Regions from separate parts of the Homo sapiens genome. Here regions 2, 3 and 4 are each linked to region 1. Evidence: promoter capture Hi-C in human tissues and cell types (Jung and others, 2019). All regions are on one chromosome and are shown on one strand. The core of a region is centred on a gene start or on the middle of the fragment in contact, and the rest is flanking DNA. Distances in the headings are between cores, read along the strand shown.

The links. The method cuts DNA at HindIII sites, captures the fragments that hold promoters and counts their contacts. A contact is called where the count stands out against the background at its distance.
Region 2: a contact is called between a fragment that was not itself captured here and the fragment with the promoter of ABRA in region 1, in 1 of the 25 tissues and cell types used here (dorsolateral prefrontal cortex).
Region 3: a contact is called between a fragment that was not itself captured here and the fragment with the promoter of ABRA in region 1, in 1 of the 25 tissues and cell types used here (mesendoderm cells).
Region 4: a fragment that was not itself captured here is called in contact with the fragment with the promoter of ABRA in region 1 in 1 of the 25 tissues and cell types used here (lymphoblastoid cells).

Annotation. Positions count from the first base shown.
Region 1 is chr8:106,768,474-106,771,630 of GRCh38, reverse strand. ABRA (actin binding Rho activating protein) reads left to right here and starts at 1,387. Exons shown (of 2, transcript NM_139166.5): 1 at 1,387-2,108. The coding sequence starts at 1,441. The HindIII fragment of the contact is 12,258 bases long and covers 1-3,157 here.
Region 2 is chr8:105,912,221-105,915,152 of GRCh38, reverse strand. The region is part of intron 2 of ZFPM2-AS1 (ZFPM2 antisense RNA 1); the gene reads left to right. Among named protein-coding and RNA genes, the nearest start is that of ZFPM2-AS1, 150 kb to the left of the region's middle. The HindIII fragment of the contact is 3,555 bases long and covers 1-2,932 here.
Region 3 is chr8:107,481,330-107,484,424 of GRCh38, reverse strand. All of the region lies in intron 1 of ANGPT1 (angiopoietin 1), which reads left to right. Among named protein-coding and RNA genes, the nearest start is that of ANGPT1, 15 kb to the left of the region's middle. The HindIII fragment of the contact is 4,650 bases long and covers 1-3,095 here.
Region 4 is chr8:105,935,622-105,938,434 of GRCh38, reverse strand. All of the region lies in intron 1 of ZFPM2-AS1 (ZFPM2 antisense RNA 1), which reads left to right. Among named protein-coding and RNA genes, the nearest start is that of ZFPM2-AS1, 120 kb to the left of the region's middle. The HindIII fragment of the contact is 5,725 bases long and covers 1-2,813 here.

The DNA.
Region 1 (3,157 bases), core at 138-2,637:
ATGGTGGCTCATGCTTGTATTCCCAGCTGCTTGGGAGACTGAGGCAGGAGGACTGATTGAGCACAGGAGGTCAAGGCTGCAGTGAGCCATCATCACACCACTGCACTCCAGCCTGGGGACACAGCAAGACCTTATCTCAAAAAACAAAACAAAACAACAACCACAAACCAAACGGTAAGGGTAGGCGGGATGGGGATAAGAAGTGAGCTACCGATAGCTTTCATTTATTCTGTCCTTAGAATTCTGTCCTTAGATGATCTTTTCAAACAAAGTATTTCAAAATATGTATTCCAACAATAATTTCTTTCTTTCTTTCTTTCTTTTTTTTGAGACGGAGTCTCGCTCGTCACCCAGGCTGGAGTGCAGTGGCTCGATCTCCGCTCACTGCAAGCTCCGCCTCCCGGGTTCACAGGATTCTTCTGCCTCAGCCTCCCGAGTAGCTGGGACTACAGGCGCCCGCCACTACGCCCGGCTAATTTTTTGTATTTTTAGTAGAGACGGGGTTTCACCATGTTAGCCAGGATGGTCTCGATCTCCTGACCTCGTGATCTGCCCGCCTCGGCCTCCCAAAGTGCTGGGATTACAGGCGTGAGCCACCTCGCCCGGCCTCCAATAATAATTTCTAAAATCCAATGTGTATACAGGTTTTAAAAACATTTTTTAATGATTGGACCAAAATTTTGACTCCCTTTTTGTATTTTAATATGAGTTATCTATACAATAGTTCAAAGTTGGGACTAGAAAGTAATTAGTCTTTGACTATCTGGACTTTGGTCTTTCTCGTATCTGGGCTTCAATTTTCTCATTTGGAAAATGAAGATTGGATGAGTTGATTTTCTAAGGTCTATTTCTAATGGAGTTGAATGAAAAAGAAAAAGGCAACTTAGGATCTTTGATAACTGGAATAAAAGGAGGCACACGCTTTGAATTACACAGAGATGGATTTGAATCTCATATTTTATTAGCTGCTGGAAGTTAGATTTTATTTTACTTAGCTATAAAGTGGAACTAATTAGGAGCTGTACTGAGGGCTGCTGGGGTTTAAGTGGGAACAATCCTATAATGTTCCCAGGATAATATGTATGCACCTATAAATGGTAGGACCATATTAAGGTCAGACAAACGTAAGGCTGAGCACATGACTTGATCTAGTAATTTCCACTCTGGCACTTGGAGAAGAGAGTGAGCATATCACTGTTCCTTACCAGCAGAGATGTCCCTCTGCCGTGATGAAACTGGAGCTGTCATGATTTATAAAAAGAACACCATCAGGGCAAAGGCGCCACATCTTGGCAAGAAATGCTTCACATAGTTTCCATCGTCACTAAGCTCTCCTTCCCACCCCGCACCCTGCTTCTATTTAAATCCCAGGCACTCCACTGGACCACACTCATTTTAGCCAGTGTCCAGGCTATCAGCAGAGAAAGACAGGTGGGCAGCATGGCTCCGGGCGAAAAGGAAAGCGGGGAGGGCCCAGCCAAGAGCGCCCTCCGGAAGATACGCACAGCCACCCTGGTCATCAGCTTGGCCCGAGGTTGGCAGCAGTGGGCGAATGAGAACAGCATCAGGCAGGCCCAGGAGCCTACAGGCTGGCTGCCGGGAGGGACCCAGGACTCACCTCAAGCTCCTAAACCAATCACACCCCCTACTTCACACCAGAAAGCTCAGAGTGCCCCAAAGTCGCCACCCCGCCTGCCAGAAGGACATGGAGATGGACAAAGCTCAGAGAAAGCCCCTGAGGTTTCTCACATCAAAAAGAAAGAGGTGTCCAAAACGGTGGTCAGCAAGACTTATGAGAGAGGAGGGGACGTGAGCCACCTCAGCCACAGGTACGAGAGGGATGCTGGTGTGCTTGAACCTGGGCAGCCAGAGAATGACATTGACAGAATCCTCCACAGCCACGGCTCCCCAACGCGGAGGAGAAAATGTGCCAACCTGGTGTCTGAGCTAACCAAGGGCTGGAGAGTGATGGAGCAGGAGGAGCCCACATGGAGGAGTGACAGCGTAGACACAGAGGACAGCGGCTATGGAGGAGAGGCTGAGGAGAGGCCCGAGCAGGATGGAGTGCAGGTGGCTGTGGTCAGGATCAAGCGCCCCTTGCCCTCCCAGTAAGTGAATGCATTCTCCCACTCCTTGTGTCAGGATCACTATTGAGCCCCAACCAAGTCTGGGAATCCAGGCAGCAGATGAAGTCCTGCCAGGGTTAGAGTGAGAATCTCAAAGACTGGACAGGCAGTGAGTACTGTAGAGGAGGGATGTCCCTGGGCTGAAGGTCAGTGCCAACCTTAGACATGGACCTTTTGGTCAGGGCCTGCGCTATTTTGTTTCTCGTTTTTGTTTTGAACTGAACACTCAAGTCTTAGCCTCAACAAAGATGAAGCCATCAGAGAGGGAAGCCTGTTTTTCGTGAATTCTTTAAGTCAGTTCTATAATGAGTAACAAATTGGCTTATTTCTTTAGAGATAAGAGTGGTTTCTGATAGACTCATTGGGGAAACTTTTACCTTGTCCCAAATGTCTATGCTATTATCAGGAGATACGTCTGCTTCAATAACACCCATGGAATACAAATCTCTGACTCTAAACAGGTGGAGGCTGCTGTCTAATTTGAAAGCAGGCTCTGAATGAAGTCAGACAGACCCAAGTTCAAATCCTAGTTCTGCCCCTAACTAGTCATTTTTAAAGGTGATTTCATCAGCTGGGCGCAGTGGCTCAGCCTGTAATCTCAGCACTTTGGGAGGCTGAGGAGGGCGGATCACTTGAGGCCAGGAGTTTGAGACCAGCCTGACCAACATTGGTGAAACCCCATATCTACCAAAAAACACACAAAAATAGCTAGGCACAGTGTTGTGCATCTGTAATCCCAGCTACCCGGGAGGCTGAGGCATGAGAATGGCTTTAACCCATGAGGCTGATGTCGGAGTGAGCCAAGATCATGCCACTGTACTCCAGCCTGGGCAACACAGCAAGACTCTGTTTCACATAAAAATTAAAAAAAGCAGATTTCCTCATTTGTAAAATGACAGCAACAGTAAGCTTTTGGGAGAAGTTCTATTGTATTGGGAAACGTAAATGAGATTAGGGCTACCAAACACAGAGCTTGTCACATATGCTCAATACACGAAAACTATTATTATTCACATAGATTTGGTTACTTT
Region 2 (2,932 bases), core at 112-2,611, 860 kb after region 1:
GATTATTTAGGAAAGTCCACAAAAGCCTCCCAAACTCAATATAGCTTCCTTAGCTTCTTAGTATGATTATATTCAATAGTATTATATTTCCTCTAAGATGGTACAGACTGGTAATAAGGACAGATTTTACAGAAAATTAGCTCTTCTAATCCTGAGACCTAAGTTATGGACAAAAAAGAAGATAAGTGGAAACTGAGTTGCTTTTAGTACATTCACTTGATTTTATTAAATTTTTATTAATCACTAATTCATTTACTCAATAGATGTTTTTGAAATACCTACCTTTAAGTATATGTGAAACCAGGGATAAAAGCTACCATTTATTGAATGACTATTGTGTGCTAATATTGGGTGAGATATTCTACATACATATTTACGCTGTTAATCAAGTTAGGCCTCCAGAGTCTGACCATAAACAATAATCCTGTTAATTAAGACAGCATGAGTGAAAATGTCCATGTCCATTCCCATGTTCATCACAATCTTTGAGTATTTGCTTCCATTCTGCACTCCCTCTAACTGGTAGAAATAAGGTGCTCATGAATTTTTCCAGGTGAGTTTGCGTACAAACATTGGTAAAACAAGGTTCCAATCAGATTTTTCTTTTTGCCTCAGAATTAATGTCGGGACACTGATGGAGTCTGCTGATAGTATTAAAGTTCTTAAAAAGTATAAGAAATTCTTGCTTAAGGATTGGTATCAATCTTCCTAATAATTTAATTGCTTTTTTTAACTTATACTAGTTTGAGTACATTTTTGTTCTTTTAAAACAAGTGTTTCCTAAGATAATATATAAACAGAGAAGTAGGCCCATGTGGGAGGGAATTCATCAAGTAGATGAACATCTTTGTAGTAACAATGAGACCAGAGAAAGACATCTACAAATGTGATATTTTAAAAATAATGTTAACAATTAATGTTTATATAAAGCTTTAAATTTGCAATGCATATTTACATAAATAATCTTACTTGATCTTCTCAATTACCTAGTGAAATAATCATCCAATTTCATATGTGAAAATCATCCACAATAAGTTATTTGCCAAAAGTTACAACTAATAAGTGGTTGGTCCAGGGTTATATGCCAGATTCTCTCATTATAAACCTTTAGTTCTTTCCATAGTATCGAGGCTTCTATGTTATCACTTGTTCTTTATAAAATGCTTGACTAAATGGAGGTTCCTACATCTTATGATCTTATGATCATCAGTTCCTAAAGGACAGAATTTCAACAAATTGAGATAGTCACATTATGTCAATTATCTGCCACTCTAAAAATAATATCTACACTGCAGTTCTTAAAAGAATAATAGGAAAAAATAGACTTAAGAAACACGTATGTTAAGAGGAATATCAGAAAAAGGGATACAGGAAGTAATTATTCCAATTACCAAGTATTTGTTCATGTATAGAATGATTCACTGCCGGCTCCATTAAATAATATTCATTAGATGAACTTTAATTTATACAAATTAAATTTCCGTAAAACGTCATAGAGATATAGGTCATTACAGAGTTAAAAAAAATGCAAAGTCATCTAATCTAACTAAAACTATTTCGTAAAGTGGAACAAATGTGATTTTATTATCCAACTATTTGCTGTTTGTTATCTTCCAAGGAAACTGTGATTTAATTGATTTCTATAAATGCTTATTGGGTATGCAGGGCATGTACCTAGAAACTGGAAGCATATCATTACAATAACCCATGGGCCCCTGATTTCCAGTGAAAACAATACACAAATGCTTGTATGACAAGGTGGATTTTGGCAAGCACTACACTAACAGTATAACATGTAATAGAGGAACTGGGAAAGAAAATATTTAATTCAAACTTAAGTGCTCTGGAAACCCTCCAATGAGGAAATATAAGGGAACATGAAGTATTAAAGTCTTAAAGGGTGATCAACACCCATATTTCAATTTAAAGAGATTTTTATTTCTATTTAACTGTTTTTAAGATCCTGATTGGTTAAGCTCAATTTTGTAAATCCAAGCTCTCAGTGATAATTATATTTAACTCTCTATGTATTGACTGTTAATGGAGCATGCATGTAAATTATGACCAATATGTTAGGATCTACAAGACAATAAACTGCATCCATCTTTTCCAATAAACAAATAGGTAAATATAAAGACAAGTCCAAACTAACATCTATACAATTGATATAGGCCAGTTTAGAAGGTGATGGATTAACGTGGGATCCAAATGCACTACTTTTATGTTATGCAAGCCCCAGAATAAGAAGATTGACTCATCAGTCACAGCAGCATTGGTCTTCTACCAACCTTTACCTCCCTTCCTGTGAGCAGAGCAGGGAGAAGATGGAAATGGTGGCGAAGGAGGTTGGAGCTCAGCTAAGCAAAGGAGGTAACCCTTCACGAGTTTACTTTGCAAACAACTCACTTCCACTCCCCCGGGGAAAGGAAAATAAAGAACAGAGAGGTGCAAGGAATGTGAGAATGTGCCTCTTCATGGAAACCAGGAGTGAGGAAATTATATTCCATTGCTAATATCCCATGAGATGATTCTGATTATTAGGGAAGATATATATCTTTTGGGATTATTTGCAGTCTTTTTCCTATAAATTGCCAAGCTTATACTTTTTTAAGAATGGTCAATTTTTTTTAGAAAGGTGTTTAATTATCTTTTTTTATATTTGTAAGATCTAAATAAATAGTATGACAGTAGATATAAGAATAAGTGACATAGTCAGTAACTGTTGTCTCACATATATAACCTCTAAATTTCTTTTTTTTTTTTTCACTTTGTATAATCCACCTCTCCTCTTTGGTGGGGATTGGCCTGAGTTTCAGGAGTGAGGTATCTTTTACTCAGTGGTAGATATAACTGAAACAAAAAAAGGTAAAAAGAAGAGGAAGAAAACCGATGAAATAGGGAAAAGTAATGAAAGAAAAAAATTGACTTGGAG
Region 3 (3,095 bases), core at 531-3,030, 710 kb before region 1:
CTCCAAAAACAAAAAGAAAAAAATAATGATTTTTTAAAATAAGGTATTAATAAATCTACCTTGGTAAACAGTGTCATCACCCAAACAAATATTTTAATACATAGCAGGTATTATCAAACCCACTTTACAGATAAGGAAACTGAGGGCCACTAAAGTCAAATGATTTTTAAGAGTTTACATATTTACTTTGAGGCAGATTGCAGAATTTGAACCCATACTCTGAGTGGTTAAATCTGAAGCTCTTCACTCTTCTTGCCTCTTTCACTTTTCTTTCACAAATTACAACAAATTCTGAATGGTGGGGAGCAGGGAAGAGATTCAGATGAATGATGATGTCTTGTAAGTTTTTGGAGAATCTATCCATACTAAATAACCATCTTTGGCAATGAGAATAATTTACCATACATGTGTATAAATTGCTGTAAGAAGCCTGATGTTCTTAGGGAAAATGCTTCCTAGGCATCTTTCCCATCCCAGCACAATTCTTAAAAAACTTTCACAAATATGTCAGAGGCAAATAATTCATTGCTATTTTTACTTTTCTTTTTAAATAAATGAGCTACTTAGACAAATTGCCTTAGTTGGAGTTATCCTGATATGAGCATACAAATAAAGATAATATTTTAAAACAGCTTATCTGTATTTTTGTTCAGGAACACTTCATTACAGTATTAGGTTGTATTTCTTATATTTCTTTCAGCTAAAAAACAAATAAAAAATAAAATATAGTCAATAGAGGAGAATCATTTAACATCTTCAACATTAATAAATTGGGTACTATTTGTAATATTCTGGGGAAGAGTCATCACTTAAAAGACCTTATGCCATATATGTTTTGAATTTTTTTAAAAGTTCATCAGTATGATAAGAATATGAAAAAAGTAGTCACTGATCTCCAGTCTATGCTTAGAAAAAAAGAAAAGAAAATTAATAAACACTTGTGAAGGTGAAACTGTCAGTATCTCTTACTGACAGTCAAGATAAACTAATGTACTAAGGAGACCTTGGTTCAAATAAATGATAAAAGCTGACAATAGCAGTGGAAAACTCATACTCAGCCTTCAACAAGGAAAGCTCTTAACTGAGAATTGAATATAGAGAGAAACTAAGAAGTCTTCCTGTCAAAGAGGAAAAAGAAATTTTTATTTTATGACTGTTATGTTTCATATGAGACTAAAGCTTACATACTTTGAGTTCACAAATCAAACTTGTGCAATTTGCAAGGAAAAGGTCATTAGGGAAATGAATTACCCTGAACATAAATTATCTCTATATAGTATCCTACTATTTTGAAATGTCTTCCATTGGATCTAATTTTGAAGATTATGGCCAAAAAGATATCATAAACAACTAAAGAATTCAAATAAACTCTATAAGCCTATTTTAAAGTTTTTTTTTAATGTTTCAAATAATTCACCAAATATTTGGAAAGCTCCTTTTCTGGTCAGATACAAAATATCCTCTTGTGAAAAATGAGATTAATGTATGTTTGTTCCTCCTCTGATTACTGGGCATTTGAGAAATCAATGGCGAAGTGGTGATTTTCATCAGAAGGACACATCATTCCAACCCATTCATTCAGTGGAGGTGTTCTGGAATCTTTAAGGAAGATCGAGTTTAAAAAATTATATATAGTTTTTAAAAGTTAGAACAAAACACACCCACCTCACCATATTTGAGTAATAAAGCTATGTAAAGACATACAGTTATTTCTTTTTTAATTTAACAAGGTAGAAAAAGTACAAGTAATAGGTAGAGAACAGGACTGGATGGTAAATGATTATAATAGCACTTCCTGTCTTATATGCCACCCTCTCATGAAGAGTTCCCCTCCCCTTGAATCTGGCTGGGCCATAAAAGGGAATTGAATTCCCATCTTGTGCACTACAATACTCATGCCCTGAGCTACTGTGTTAGAAGTCCATATACCCCAAGGCCATGGTGTTGTGAAGAAGTCAAGCCACATGGAGAAGGCATGTGTAGGTGCTGTGGTTAGTGAGTCTCCATATTTGAGTCACCTCAACTCAGGCTCTAGACATGGGAGCAAATGAGCCTTCAAAGCTTTCTGGTCCCCACCCATTGCACTATCTCTAGATTCGGAAAAGGTTCAGAACATCATGGAGTAGAAACAACCCATCCCTACAGTTCCTTTTCTGAAATCCTGACTCATAGAGTCTGACAGCCCAATGAACATAATCAAATAGTTGTTACAAACTACTAAATTTGGAGGGTAATATGACGGAACTTCAAAAAATTCATGGAAGAAAATAATTGAAAGATAAAAATGAAAATGTAAACTTTATTTCTTAACATAAGCTACATCAGGTTCAACTCACTCATATAAGCCGTGATACCAGCCATCTTAGTCCATCCCTAAAGAACTGAAGGTCCGGGAATTTAATCATTATCAATGCAGTCTTTTTTTCATTATTAACTGAAGGGAAATAAGTACCTGATATGGTTTGGCTGTGCCCCCACCCAAATATCATCTTGAATTGTAGTTCCTATAATCCCCACGTGTTGTGGGAGAGACCTCATAGGAGGTGAATTCGATTATGGGGGCAGTTTTCCCATGCTGTTCTCATGAGAGTGGGTGAGTTCTCACGATAGTGAGTGAGTTCTCACGGAATCTGATGGTTTTATAAGGGGCTTCCCCCTTCGCTCGGGACTCATTCTCTTTCCTGCAGCCCTGTGAAGAGATGCCTTCTGCCAAGATTGTAAGTTTCCTGAGGCCTCCCCCCAGACACTGGGAACTGCGGGTCAGTTAAACCTCTTTTCTTTATAAATTACCCAGTTTCGGGTATTTCTTCATAGCAGCATGAGATTGGACTAATATAGTACCTTTTACAGATTTTCTTTTCTTCTTCCTTTTTTTTTTTTTTTTTTTTTTTTGAGACAGAGTCTTGCTTTGTTGCCAGGCTGGAGTGTAGTGGTGTAATCTTGGCTCACTGCAACCTCTGCCTCCCAGGTTCAAGTGATACTCCTGCCTCAGCCTCCCAAGTAGCTGGGACTACAGGAGCCCGCCACCGCGCCTGGCTAATTTTTTGTATTTTTAGTAGAGATGGGCTTTCACCATGTTGGCCAGGATGGTTTCG
Region 4 (2,813 bases), core at 80-2,579, 830 kb after region 1:
ATAGCTTGAATCTAGGAGGTCGAGGGTGCAGTGAGCTGAGATTGTGCCACTGCACTCCAGCTTGGGCAACAGAGCAAGACCCTATCTATAAAGAAAAGAAAAGAAAAAAAAAAAAGAAAAAAGAAAATCATACAAAAGAGTTTAAATCCTTACTTTTGTCATTTACCCACTGGGTGGCTTTGGAAAAGCCATTCAAAATCATTTGAATGATAGTTTAATCATTTATAAAAAGATGACTGTAATATCTCAGAAGATCATTGAGGCCATTAATGGAAAATATATGCAAAACAACTGAGGATCTGACATGTAATCAATAAATTGCCTGCATAATATTAAATTGGAGTCTGAATGTAATTGCCATCAGCATCTCACACACATCTCAAGACAAAATTGTTGTTTTTTGTACTGTGTACAAGTACTCATTGAGTGGGGCCAATTTTTGGATTTAGAACTTTTCTGACGAAAGCACTGATTGAGTCCTTCAACATTTTCTTAGTTTTTTCTTTTTTTTTTTTTTTTAACACATCTGATTGTCTCCTGGTGATGTAGATTCTATGTTCATAAAATGCTCACTGACTCAATGATACAATTCCCTCTTTAGTTGTTTACTATTAAAAAACATATTTCAAGAGAACACAACTCCAACCACAAAAGCATTTTGAGGAAAGTGAAAATCAACAAAGGAGCAGGACCTGCACTGTGGAATGTATTTCTAGGCATTGACAAGCCAACATATTTGATTCTGTTTAAGAACCTTCTGTAAATTTTGGAGTCCTCATTAAGTACAGAAACAAAAATGAGGAAAAAACTGCCAAGCGGGGTTTGGATTTGTATTTTCATATGTTATCTCATGTATTAGTCTATTTTCACACTGCTATAAAGAAGTACCCAAGAATGGGTAATTTATAAAGGAAAGAGGTTAATTGACCTCTTCCACATGGCTAGAGGAGGCCTCAGGAAACCTATAAACATGGCAGAAGGTGAAGGGAAAGCAAACACCTTTTCACATGGTGGCAGGAGAGAGAAGATTGAGTAGCGAAGGGGGAAGATCCCCTTATAAAACCATCAGATGTCGTGAGAACGAACTCACTATCATGAGAACAGCATGGGGGAAACTGCTCCCATGATCCAATCACCTTCCACTGGGTCTTTCCCTAAACACATGAGGATTATGAGGATTACAATTCAAGATGAGATTTGGGTGGGGACACAGCCAAACCGTGTCATATCAATAGACCTGCTCTTGGTTTCAATTGGATAAACTTAGACTTAGATATTGTAAGTATGCATTTCCAGAGCAGCATTACAAATATTTGAAATGGTACATTTGGATCAAGTAAAAAGAACTAGCTTCTTATACACTTTTATTAAGAAGTTATTTATCATCTACCTTTGATCGTATCCTCTTAGGAAAAAACATATTTACATTTTTGTTCATTGGGCAAATATTTATCTCATTTACTTGTGTATTTCTTATAAGCCACCGATTTGCAATATGCTACATTTACATTTTCTCATTTGTTGCATCAGTTATAAAGGAGGAGGAAAGGAATAATAGGATTTGTTTGGTAATTTGTACTCTTACAGCTTTCTCTGAGTAGTTGTCCCAAAGCATTAAAAAATGCTTCAGAGTCTTGCATAAATTGTAACTGCACTGATATGCTTTCTTTCTTTTCTCACAAGGAGAAAGGTTATTAAAAACAGAGAAAGATCAGACTCTTCAACGCATTCTGAAGAGTGTCTCACACAGGGAATAAACTCAATAAGCAGTTGGTTAATATAAAAATGAATAGATGAATGAATCAGAATGTTTAAATATGTTATTTAAGAATCTATGATCTTTTCCTAAAAATATTATTTCTATAGTTCAGAAAACATTAAAAATTCAGTATCATGAGAAAAATGAAGTGTTTCATTAAGCATTCAATCAAAAAAAAATGAAGCTGACCACTTATAACCCTAAGCATGTTGAAAATGGTATTATTTCCAAAATTGATTATACACTATTCAAGCTGAGGGGGTCACCATTCTCAGTGTAAATGACTGTATTGTAATTTTATACAACGAGGCTCCCAGGGCTAATCCAACAGGTAGGACTTAGTCATGGAATATTGGATATTCAGGTTTCCTTTTTTGTTATTTTGCTTTTTGGAGACAAGGTCTTGCTCTTTTGCCAAGACTAAAGTGCAATGGCACAATCATGGCTAATAACAACCTAGACATCCTGGGCTCAACAGATCCTTCCATCTCAGCATCCCAAGTAGCAGGGACCACAGGCATACACCAACATGCCCAGCTAAGGTTTTAAATTTTTTGTAGAGGCTGGGTCTTGCTACGTTGTCCAGTCTAAAATTTCTTACCACCAATTTTTAGATTTTATTTTTGTCTTCCCCATCACACTTAGGCTGAAAGCACTTACTGTTTGTTGCAAAAGGTATCTGTCTTTAGAAGCATTCATTTGTCCTCTTATTATTGCTGGCCTTTCATGTTTTTTGAGTTTCTAAACTAGATCATTCAACACTTCAGATCACATGTAAAATGTCATGGGCATTCCTATGAATTAAGTGCATGAATTTTATGATATCTTTTTGTAATGTCCAGATTATTTTGCTCATTTTTTGAGTACTTGGCCAATCTAAGCCACTGAGTTCACCGGACTGGCCAGAATAATTTAAGTATTGCCATCATCACATCGTACAGGTGCTGCTAACTAGCAAGCTGTTCTTAATCATTGACATCTCTCTTTTTTTCTAGGCCAGATCCTTCTGTATAAATTAACAATAATTCGGCTGGGCATGGTGGCTCACACCTGT